Regions from separate parts of the Homo sapiens genome. Here region 2 is linked to region 1. The links are contacts of gene promoters, found by promoter capture Hi-C in human tissues and cell types (Jung and others, 2019). All regions are on one chromosome and are shown on one strand. Each heading gives the region's core, a stretch centred on a gene start or on the middle of the fragment in contact. The rest is flanking DNA. Distances are from core to core; before and after follow the strand shown. Region 1 holds the start of CST2 (cystatin SA). Region 2 has its middle 17 kb from the start of CST4.

Region 1 (5,775 bases), core at 1-2,500:
CTGGCAGGGTGCTGGGCCTCATGCCCCCTCTTAAATATTGTTTTCTCTGTGCTGGGTAAAAGGATTCATTGAATTCTGCCACCTGTGGCTCAGGGGCAAGGGAACACTGACTCTTTTTACCCATGGGTGTCAGTTTACCCATGTATAAAATAGGCGTCCGGGCCTGATGGTCTGCAATGCCCTGTGCTTCACTCCAAGTTATTGTCATGCTTGAAAGGGAGGTGGAGGCAAGCGGGGACCATGGCACCAGGGAGTGCACCTCCCGTGCAGGGTGAGGGTCCCAGTTGACAGCTGCAGGAGGAGAAATGGGGCTGGTCTGGATTCCTTTGAATTTCCAAGAGAAGGTGGAGGAGCTCTAAAGCCTGTGTCACTATTTGCTGCTCTGCCATGGGATGCAGGTAAAGCTGGGCCCAATAGCCCTTCTGAAGCTCTCTCTTGACCTGACACCTCCTCCTCTCTACTGGGTAACTGCTGTCCTCATCTGGCTGAGGTCTAACTCTGCATCAACTCATAGAGGCAGGGTCAGGCGTGCTCCACCCCAGCAGGGACTCAGCTGCCCTGGGCTGTAGGGGGTGGTCAGCCGGCCTGAGGGTGAAGGCCATTAGCCCTAAAGGGCTGTACCCACGGGTGTGACTTGGGGAGTGAAGTAGGGCTCTGCAGAACAGGAAGCGAAGTTCCTGTGTGGCCCCTGAGGAGAGGACTCAGGGAGGAGGGTGAGCCTCATGGCCTGGATCTCATCCTGAGCAGCATCAAGCCCATCCAGAGTCAGCATAGTCTCCATCCCCCGGGAGCATGCTTAGGCATGAAGGCCATAAGCAGAGAGTCAGGGAAAGCTGAATGAATCTGAGCATTAGATCATGAATGTATCAGTGTTGATGTGCTGCGAATGCTCTTATGGATCGGGCAACAAACAAGGCTGGGACTCAGGACCCCTCAGGTGGAGGCAGCACCCACCTGCTCCCTGGCTCGTAGCACCCGCAGCAGGCGTCTGTAGTACTCATCTTCAGTGGCCTTGTTATACTCGCTGATGACAAAGTGAAGGGCACGCTGTACCCGCTCATCATTGAGGTCTGCATCATAGATGCCACCCTCGATTATCCTGTCCTCCTCCTGGGGGCTCCAGGCCAGGGCCACAGCCTGGGTGGCCAGCAGGAGCAGCAGGGTGCACAGGGGCCAGGCCATGGTCTCCTCGGAGGCAGAGCACAGAGCTGGAGCTGCAGGAGAGGAGGTTGAGAGCCTGAGGCGGGGATCCCAGACCAGCAGGCAGCTGTGCATTTATCCTGCTTTGGCAGCTCAGCCCCACCCCCCTCCATGACCTGCCCCTGACTCCTCCTCCTCTTTCTGCTCATTCCCTCTTTCTCCATCTCTCTTTTCACTCCTCAGAAACCACAAGATCCCTCCCTGCCTAAGTTCTCCCTGCCCCTCCCAGGCCTCCTCCTCTATCTACCCCTCCTCCCCACTCCTGTCCTCACTGCAGCCTCCCCGAGCCATGCCTCTCTTCCCCAGTGCTCCCAAGCTTGAGTCACCAGGTCTCCACAGAGATGACACTTCTCCTTTGGCTATGAAAACAATGTGACCTCCTGTTTGCTCAGAAAAGTGAAAAATACAGGGCTTGGCCTCCGGGGTCTTCAGATATCAGAGGCATCCAGGAGCACTTGGTCACGGTCTCTGAATCTCTGGAACAGGGAGGTTATTTCAGAAGGTTCCAGAAGACCCTGTCCACACCCTATTATGGAGAATTTCTTTGCCAAATTCAAGGGAATTAACCTTTTTTGAAAAGGTCACTGGGTTCTCTTTTCATAACTCATTATTCAATAAAAAAACTTATCACCAGCTACTCCCCGTGCCAGGAGGTCTAGGGCTTGAATACTGAACCTGGATGATGAGCCATAGAGGTGACATTGCAGAGCTGCTGCCCACAGAGATGTGACATGAACCCACGAGCATATGAAAATGTGTAGTAGATGCATTTTAAAAGATGAGAAAAAATGGGTGAAAGTAATGTTTAAAATATTTATCTAACCTAATACAGCCACAATATTATTTCAGCTAATAGGAACTATTATTAATGAGATTTTTTTTTTGTTGGAGGGGTTTTGTAAATCTTTGAAATTCGCTGTGTATTTTTTACACTTAGCCTGGGAGTCATTTTGGACTGGCCCCATTTCAAGTGTCCCGTGGCACATGTGGCAGGTGGCTATGAAACTGTACAGTCCGTTCCTACACAGTGTGTGTAGGGGATGATAGGTTATGGTCAACAATTAGGATCAGGGAGTTATACTCACTCTGTTGGAAGTGAAATAGAACAGGGGCTAGAGAGAGACCACTGGACCCTGGTCAGGGTGGTCTCTATGAGACTGGAGAGGTTGAGAAGCCCCAGGCATTGGGGAACAGCCAGTGCAAAGGCCCTGAGGTGGGATTGGGACATGCCTGCTCCAGGAAGAGGAAGCTCCTGGAGGGGATGTGAGCAGGGAAGGGAATGACCTGGTGTCTCATGGTAACTGTGGGTGGGGCCCACAAGGTGCAGGGAGACACCTGGCAGGCAGTGGGGGTGTCAGAAGAGGGAGCAGAAGCCAAGGGATGAATGTGGGAGCCCACAGGCCTCACTTGCTTCTCTCCTAGGCAGCCATGCTTCCAGCTTCTTTCCTCTATGCACTGCTTGGAAGACCCACCTGATATTTTAAAAATTGCCTTGAAGGAGGTAGAATTTACATACAGTAAGATGCCTAATAGTATGTGCCCACCTGGAAGATTTTGTAAATACATACACCTGTATTACCACTTTGTCCAGACCTCTGACATCTGCCTTGCCCCAGACGGTGTCCTCCTGCCTCTGCAGCTCATCCTCGTGCCCACCCCACCCTGGCAGCCCCTGTCCAGTCCTGTAGACTCCTTTGTCACCTGCCCTTGAGATTCCCAGGAATGGAATCCTGCAGAGCAATCCCAGATGTGTCTTCGTCCTTTGCTCAGCGTGGCTTTCCAGTGGCCCCCAAGTTGCTTCATTGCCAGGATTGGGAGTTCTCCTTCTCCACAGACTGAGAGGACCTAATCACCACAGTGCTCTGTGGGGTGACAAAGTCTCCAGCTTGGGATGCTGTGGGCCTGTGCTGGAATGTGGCTCCAGGATTGGGGAGGATGGAAGGAGGCCCTGAACAGACAGCTGCTCCCTTTGTTCTCTCAACCCAACCCTCCATGCCTGAAGGTGACCCTGTGGCAAATGCCCTTGTGGTGAGGTGGAAGGCTTGGTGAGAAACACCAGGAAACCCTGGGCCTTTGCATGGCATCCAGAGGACTCTCCTGGGAGTAGTGGAGGTGAGGGTCAGACAGAGTCAACCCAGAGCTGCTGGGATCCTGGGTCTCAGCCGTGGCTGGGGCTGCATCAGCAGGACCCGGCAGCAGGAACAATATTACTCATTGGTGTTCATGTTCAGTATTAGGACAGGGGACCTTGTTATCCAAGGCCCAGTGACCATTGCACACCACTGTCAATCCAGCACACCTAGAAAAACCATGCATCCCAGCAGATACAGCAGGTGTCCCAGGGATGGTGTTTACCGCTGGGTGATGGAGGGAAGGTCTTCAAACAGGGCTGCGCAGGATGGCTCCTAGTTAGACAGGGAATGGGGATAAATTCCCAGAGAAGGGAGAGAGAGGGAAGTCCCTTACCAGGTGTTTGTGAGCAGAGTGGTCATCTCCAAAGGGTAGGACTTAGTTCTCCTCTGTGGCTCCCACCTTCCTGGGATAGCTGGGAGTCCAGACTCAGGAAGAGCTGCTGTGCAGAGGATAAGCTGAAGGTCAAGAAATCCTCTCATTTTTTTTTATCACTGGAAAGGAGATGCAGGTTGAAGGGGTGGCCTGCCCCTCCACACCTGTGGGTATTTCTAGTCAGGTGGGATGAGAGGCTGAGAAAAGAAATAAGACACAGAGACAAAGTATAGAGAAACAACAGTGGGCCCAGGGGACCGGCGCTCAGCATACCAAGGACCTGCACCGGCACCGGTCTGAGTTCCCTCAGTTTTTATTGATTATTATCTTCATTATTTCACCAAAAAGGAACATAGCAGGAGGGCAGGGTGATAATAAGGAGAAGGTCAGCAACAAACATGTGAGCAATAGAATCTACGTCATAATTAAGTTCAAGGGAAGGTACTATGACTGGACATGCACGTAAGCCAGATTTATGTTTCTCTCCACCCAAACATCTCAGTGGAGTAAAGAATTACAAGGCAGTATTGCTGCAAACATGTCTCGCCTCCCACCATAGGGCAGTTTTTCTCTCATCTCAGAATTGAACAAATGTACAATCGGGTTTCATACTGAGACATACAGTTCCCAGGGGCAGGCAGGAGATAGTGGCCTTCCTCTATCTCAACTGCAAGAGGCTTTCCTCTTTTACTAATCCACCTCAGCACAGACCCTTTACAGGTGTCGGGCTGGGGGACAGTCAGGTCTTTCTCATCCCACCAGGCCATATTTCAGACTATCACATGGGGAGAAACCGTGGACAATACCCTGCTTTCAAGGGCAGAGGTCCCTGCAGCCTTCCGCAGTGCATTGTGCCCCTGGTTTATTGAGACTAGAGAATGACGACGGCCTTTATCAAGTATACTGCTTGTAAACATTTTGTTAACAAGGCACATCCTGCACAGCCCTAGATCCCTTAAACCTTGATTTTATACAACACATGTTTTTGTGAGCTCCTGGTTGGGTCAAAGTGCCTGGGGCAAAGCTACAAAATTAAGAACATCTCAGCAAAGCAATTATTTAAAGTACAGGTCTTTTACAAAATGGAGTCTCTTATGTCTTCCATTTCTACATAGACACAGTAACAGTCTGATCTCTCTTTCTTTTCCCAAACAGGTAACCCAAATAGTGAGAATTTGCTGGTGGGTGGAGTGTGAGGGAGGGAGGCCAAAGTGCTGATCTGTGCCGTGTATGTGATGACACCACCAGTGGTCATCTTGTGTCAGGATGCTGGCATGCACTGCAGGGAGGGTCAGCTGTCCTGATGCAGCAACCTCTCTAATCTCAGTAGGAAAGATACCAATGTATGTTGCTTTTCTGAGGAGGTACAAGTGCGATGTCCAGTATGGAGTGATAGGAAGTGGCAGGTGGGGGTAGCTGGCCAGCTGCTCCAGATGTTTGATGACCTTAGGCAAATGTTGTGTCTGTTGTGCGTGTGGAGAAAGAGGCTACTTTTTAAAGCGTATTGTCTGGGAGTTCAGACCAGCAGAGATGAGCAGACTTTACCAGTGATGTAGCAACATGTTTGAAAATGATGGAATAGCCAGGTGAGGTGGTGCACCTGTAATCCTAGCTAATTAGGAGAGTGAGTCAGGAAGATTCCTTGAATCCAGGAGTTCAATTCCAGCCTGTGAAACACAGTGAAACCCCCATCTCAAAAAAAATGACAGAACATTTTGTTCCCTGATTTCTATAGTCCACAGTTTTAAGGACACACTAGGAGGGGGCCAGATAGCAACCATGGACTGAGGAACAAGCCTGGGGCCTCCAGCACCCATGTAACCTGGAGGAGTCTAGCTGCCCAGGAGGGGGCAAGTTTTCCTTCTGCTAGGTGATGAAAGAGAAAGCTCTGTTCCCCTAGGCTGCATGGGTGACTACTGATCCTATTATCTGAATTAGCAGGATGAGAAGTTAGGTGAGTGGTAGAAGTTCTCTGCAATAAATGATGAATAATAAGTGAACACTAAGCAATACTACAATAAACAAATGACCAAACACAGAAAGCATCACCTACAGGTGCAGGTGGTGAGG
Region 2 (5,678 bases), core at 774-3,273, 120 kb before region 1:
TGCCCCTCTGCTGAGCTGCACCCCTGCCTGACTTCTTCCTCTGCCCCACCCCATTCCCCTGCCTCCCTAGCACATGCCTCAGTGAGCCTCTTGCCCTTGAATTTCCATCTGAGTCTGTTTCCAGGAACCCTAACCAAGAGATGGTGGAGTCAGGACCCACACCACAAATATCCTGCCTTTTAAACTACAGTGGGTGTTAGATCTGTGAATGTTTGGAGGATGGGGCAATTCTTGTCTGGGAGACTGGATGTCTCTTTTCCCAGGATTCAAGGGGTAGGATGCTCCAAATGTATTTAGACCTGAGACCTATTTGGAAAAATGGTGTTTTATCTGGAAAGTTCCCTGTTCTTGAAAATCTCTTACTCAGCTAGTACTATTTTTCCCTCTTTACTCCTTAGTAAAATGAAAACCAAAGCTTCCATTTGTATTGGACTTGGTGAAATATTTCACTTACCAAATTTCTTTGGATCCACCTGATGGGGAAGGCTAGGCAGGTAACATAAACCCCTTGTAATTTTGTGGAAATATGTAGAAGGGAATTTGGGGACAATAAGGCAGGTCATGTAATTTTCAGATAAATTTTGTTCGCATTGCACAATAAGCTTCATTTGCCACCCTGGCTCTGGGACTGGCACTTAGTGGTGTGTCAGCTCCATCATTTGTAGAAGTGTCCTGGCTGCAGATAGCAGGAGTCCTGAGAAACACTGGCTGCCTCTCCCATGATGACACTGGTGATTCACCAAAGGCCATGGGGGTGGTGTTCACAGAGTAGGTGCAGGGTCCTTAGCAGGGGCCCAGGTGGTTTCCTTCCATCTTCTCCATCATTCATTGGGCTCTTGTTGTTGGGAACATGGCTCATAAGTGAAAGGCAGACACCATAGTTGGAGACGTTCTGTCCCACACTACTGCCTGAAACGTGAGGAGTAGGAGCAGGAGGAGGTCACAGGGGGTGAGAAGAGGGTGTGGACAGTGAGTGGGAGAGAGAGTGTGTGTGTGTGTGTGTGAGAGAGAGAGAGAGAGAGAGAGAGAGAGAGAGAGAGAGAGAGAGGATTCATTCCGAGGACCCTGTCTTTTCTATTCAGTACAGGCTTTTCTTTTCTTTCCTTTTTCTTTTTCTTTTTTCTTTTTTCTTTTTTTTGTAATGACCTGGCTGCCTTCTTAGATGTTACTGCCTGGACTTGGGTCCTATGCCCCGGGGGGTGAGGAAGGCCAGGAAGTTTATTGCCTGGTGCTTTCAGACTTTCCACTCAGGGGAAGGGAAAGGGAGTAGGGACTGGCTGGTGAGGTTTTCAGAACAAAGTTTCTTAATATGAGAGTCCACAAAGAGTTTGTAGAAACTCCATTGTACTCCAAAGATTACAAGCGTGTTTGTGCAGGAGTGTGCATACACATACCTACACACCATTTCTACAATACTCATCTGACTCCTAATGAGATCAGTGACTATTACACTATTCTAATGTTGAAGTATGGATGCTGAGTTGTAAATGCAATGCCATGAGTTTGCACTGAAATTAAATGCAGACTCACTTCTTGAGCTTTACATATCCATTACTTTCAACTGAACTGGGCATCAGGCTATCTCCTCTTTACATTCAATGAAAGTAGAATACAGGAGAATGAAAGAGGATGAAATGGAGCACTCTAAAGCCAAGCCAGAGCCCACCTGCTAATTGCAGTCACTGAGTCCACAGCAGTGATGATTTCTCTGGTGGTGAAGGCTTTGTAGGGAATGTGACCTAAGATATCCTCTCTTCCCCAGGAACTCAGAGCATGTATCTGAAGACATTCAGTGCCACAAAAAACAAGCAAACACTTATTAAATACTAAGTGGCTTTCAGAACTCAGGGAGCATGTGAGAACAATTTTTTTCCCACTTTGGAAGGAGTTTCACTCTTTTTGCCCAGGCTACAGTGCGATGGTGTGATCATGGCTTACTGCAACCTCTGCCTTCCAGGTTCAAGCGATTCTCCTGCCTCAGCCTCCCAAGTAGCTGGGATTACAGGCATACACCACCATGCCCAGCTAATTTTGTACGTTTAGTAGAGATGGAGTTTTACTATGTTGGCCAAGCTGGTCTTGAACTTTCGACCTCAAATCATCCACCCGCCTTGGTCTCCCAAAGTTCTGGGATTATATTCATGAGCCACTGTACCCAGCTGTGAGAACACCCTATGCTGAAAATAAACTGCCGATTAACTCATAGTTGATAAGCTGTGAGGCATATGTGGGCATATCAACCACACCAATAGGTCATTCAGCCATAGTATTTGTTAGTTTTAGTTTTAAAAATAGAGACATAGGGAGGATCCAAGGGGAAATAACCTATAATCTCATCACCCAAACACTCCTAACTGACACTAAAAAAAATGTATAAAGAACACACACACATTTTTGTAATGTTCAAATGGAAAATAAAGATCCTAAATATAAAAAAAAGCAAAAGCCAAATTATCCATCTCCCTACCCACTCTACCACCTCTCTTCCGTGGTATCCACTGTTAATAAATACAAATGACTGACTGCCTGTCTCCTTTCCTATATTTTAGGCTTTTATGTGTATATCCACATGTGTAAATATGTGTCTAAATGTCTATACACTCATACACATGCGTGTTTACTTTTGTTTTTACAAGCTTTATATTAACACACCACATATACCTTGCTTTCAATAAAATAATATATTCAAGATATATTAAAATTATTTCCAGTTTAACACATATGTTGCTATCTAATTCTTAACCGCTCTTCCATCATGTGTGTGCTCTATAATTTATTTGAGCAGTCTCTAGTGATGACATCATTTTGATCATGTCAAAGTTTGTGCTATTACCAGGACATTGCCATGGTCATCCACAGGTTTCACTGAGTGTTGGTGACACTGTAAATGATATATTAATAGATTCTTAACATATTTTAAGTGTAGGTTTATTAACATCTATTAAATGTATGATTGGTGTAGGGGATGGGCCTGTGATCCAGACCTGGCCTATGAGGCATGAGAAGGAATGAGCTAAGGAGTGCATAGGAGGAGGTTACTCACATTCAGGAAGGACGGGTGGAACAGAGGCTTTTCCCTAGGATCTTTCTGCCTCTGGATGTTGGTGTTGATGATGTGATGTCTGGAGCTGTAGCAAACACCTTGCTACCAGCTCGAGGCTGAAGCATCATAAACAGAAAGGTAAGGATGAGAGAATCCCAGGGAAGCAGAGCTAGATGCTGGGAGTTCTGCTCCTAAAACCTGTCTCACCCAGGGCCTTCTTATTATGACAGGTAGAGTACTCCCTTTGCATTCAAGCCATTTTTAATTGGGACCTTTCTTTACATGCAGTGGAAAGCCTCTTGCCAGCTCCCAATGCCCATGCAAGTTTATTCTGCATGAGTTTCTCCTTCCCTCACTTCTTCTCCATGTCTCCTACTTTTGTGGCTGGTGGATTTGCCTCCCTCCCATTTCCTCTGGGACCATGCACTCTTACAAAAATATTAAAGTCTTCTAATAAAAATCCAGACCTTTAGTGATGCTAATGACTTTTAAGTACAGAGCTGTTCAAAAACCCCACAAAAAGCTCCAAGTGGGCCTCAGCAACAGCTTTACTTTGCTGGATGTTTTGTACAATAAAAAAGTGTGTGGTATTTTCACTGTAGTCAGTTAAGAACATTGGCTTTTTCTACTTTGGCTTTCTTCTTCACATTCACCACCCTCCGGATGGTGTAGGTTGGACCCAGGCATTTTGATATCTGGCTAAGAGGACGTTGAGTTGGGATGCATTTAACCTGGGGTGAGGGGAACACATTCCCGCGGTTCTCAGTCACTCCTGTGCATAGTCATGTTGCCTCAAACTGTCCTGGTGTAGGAGTGGCCCCAGACAAGGCCCTACCACCCCCTCGGTTTTTACCTAAATCAGCGAGGAGAGGTAGAACCTTGATCAGAAAATGTCCCCAGCACCTCACATTGGAAGCCTGTGATTAGCAGAGAGGAAAAAAGGTTTGCAATGTGTGGAGCCAGAAGCCCATCTATGGATAATGATTCCCAGCAGAAACATGGAAAATTTCAAGTGAGTGTTTGGTTCTTTTTGACCCTAGTCAAAAAAGGAAGTTTTACTCTATTGGAAATGTATTTGGTAATATGGCATATAAAATAATTATTGCATCATGCAGTTGTTTTTATTTTTGATGGTAATTGAATGAGATAGAATTTCTCAATTTTTGACATTTGTAGAGCACAGATCTGTGTGGTGAAACTACCCATAGTAAGGACATATGTGTGTGAAGCGGCACAGAACTGATGGATGGGGCTGACCTCCCACCTCTTTTTATCCTGACCAAGTCTGGGAGCTCCACATAACACAGATATAAAATTGTGACCAGCAGTAAGGCAGCTCAAAGAAATGCTTGCTTCAGGACAAACTCCTCCTGCACAGTCAATGAGCTAATAGATATAGCACATAAGGACATTTTTAGACAATTCTGAAGCTCAGTACAACAGTGACAGTTTAAAAATGCTGTGTTTGTGTCCATCGTCAACAGAAAGATTTGATAAGGTCCTCAGTTTTAAAACAAGACAATTTAGAGGTATTAAAATCTTAGAGCTTGCAGATGAAAGGAAAATGAAAGAGGCTTTTCCAAACTGGACAACAACCAGAAAAATGTGCATGATATGGCCAATTATGAGTTTTGAATCAAGATGTTATGCACTATCAATTTTACAAGTGATCAAACCTTTTAGTGGAAAGACTGGTTTATTCTTCTGCTATACTTAATCAAAATCCTATGATAAATTAAATGTCTTATAATGAGACAAATAGTGATTCATTAGTTGAGTATAAAAACATCAAATGAAATTATGAGTTGTGTCAGTAGCTAATTAATAAAAATATCATGTGAGGAAGTAAAAATCATGTGGATTAAGAAGGGCAAATCTGCCCTTTCATCTGCAGAGTGGATAGATGGACTGATGTTAACAAAGCCAGTGGTATCATGAGCAGGACAGAATGTTCAAGCTGCAGCTTTGAAATGTCAAACAGCCTCTTGTTGGCTGATGACTGCTTTCTGACTCTGGGCAGGTGCCTGAGGCTGGGGTTAGAGAGAGTCCCTTCTCCCTGCCCAGCACCCAGCCCTGCAGCTGCTTCCTCTAGTCCAGCAGGCAACATCCCAAAGGATGCATGGTGGAGCTCCCAGTACCTCCATTGCCAAGTTAAATACCTCTTAACAAATCAAATTCATCACATTTGTCCCCCACCACCCCATCCACCTGCTCATGTCAGAGGCGTTTGAACCAGAGCAACTCCATCTGGAGTAGGGGCTGGGTAAAATGAGGCTGAGACCTACTGTGCTGCATTCCCAGATGGTTAAGGCATTGTAAGTCACAGGATGAGATAGGAGGTCAACACAAGACTGCTTTCTGACTCAATGGAAGACCTCATCCTCTAGAGTCAGGGGCTGTCAGAAACTTTGCTTATCAGTAAGAAGAACATTCTACTGCCTGGAAGATCTATATCCACCTTTCCACAGAAGCACAGAGCTACAGAGAAGGGGTTTATGGACAGAACATTCCACATCTGTCTGGACTTTATGGGTTCTAAGGACACAGGACTTAGGTCCACTTTGCAGACCAGGCTTGACACTGGCTGCTTTACACAGAGGCCTGCCATGCCCTGAGTGCATCGATGTCACCTCAA

The links. Contacts are between HindIII fragments. The study calls those that stand out against the background at their distance.
Region 2: a contact is called between a fragment that was not itself captured here and the fragment with the promoter of CST2 in region 1, in 4 of the 25 tissues and cell types used here (dorsolateral prefrontal cortex, liver, mesendoderm cells and 1 more).

Annotation. Positions count from the first base shown.
Region 1 is chr20:23,825,479-23,831,253 of GRCh38, forward strand. It overlaps CST2 (cystatin SA), which reads right to left and starts at 1,251. Exons shown (of 3, transcript NM_001322.3): 1 at 955-1,251. The coding sequence starts at 1,182. The HindIII fragment of the contact is 9,318 bases long and covers 1-3,727 here.
Region 2 is chr20:23,703,280-23,708,957 of GRCh38, forward strand. No RefSeq gene overlaps it. Among named protein-coding and RNA genes, the nearest start is that of CST4, 17 kb to the left of the region's middle. The HindIII fragment of the contact is 5,877 bases long and covers 1-4,962 here.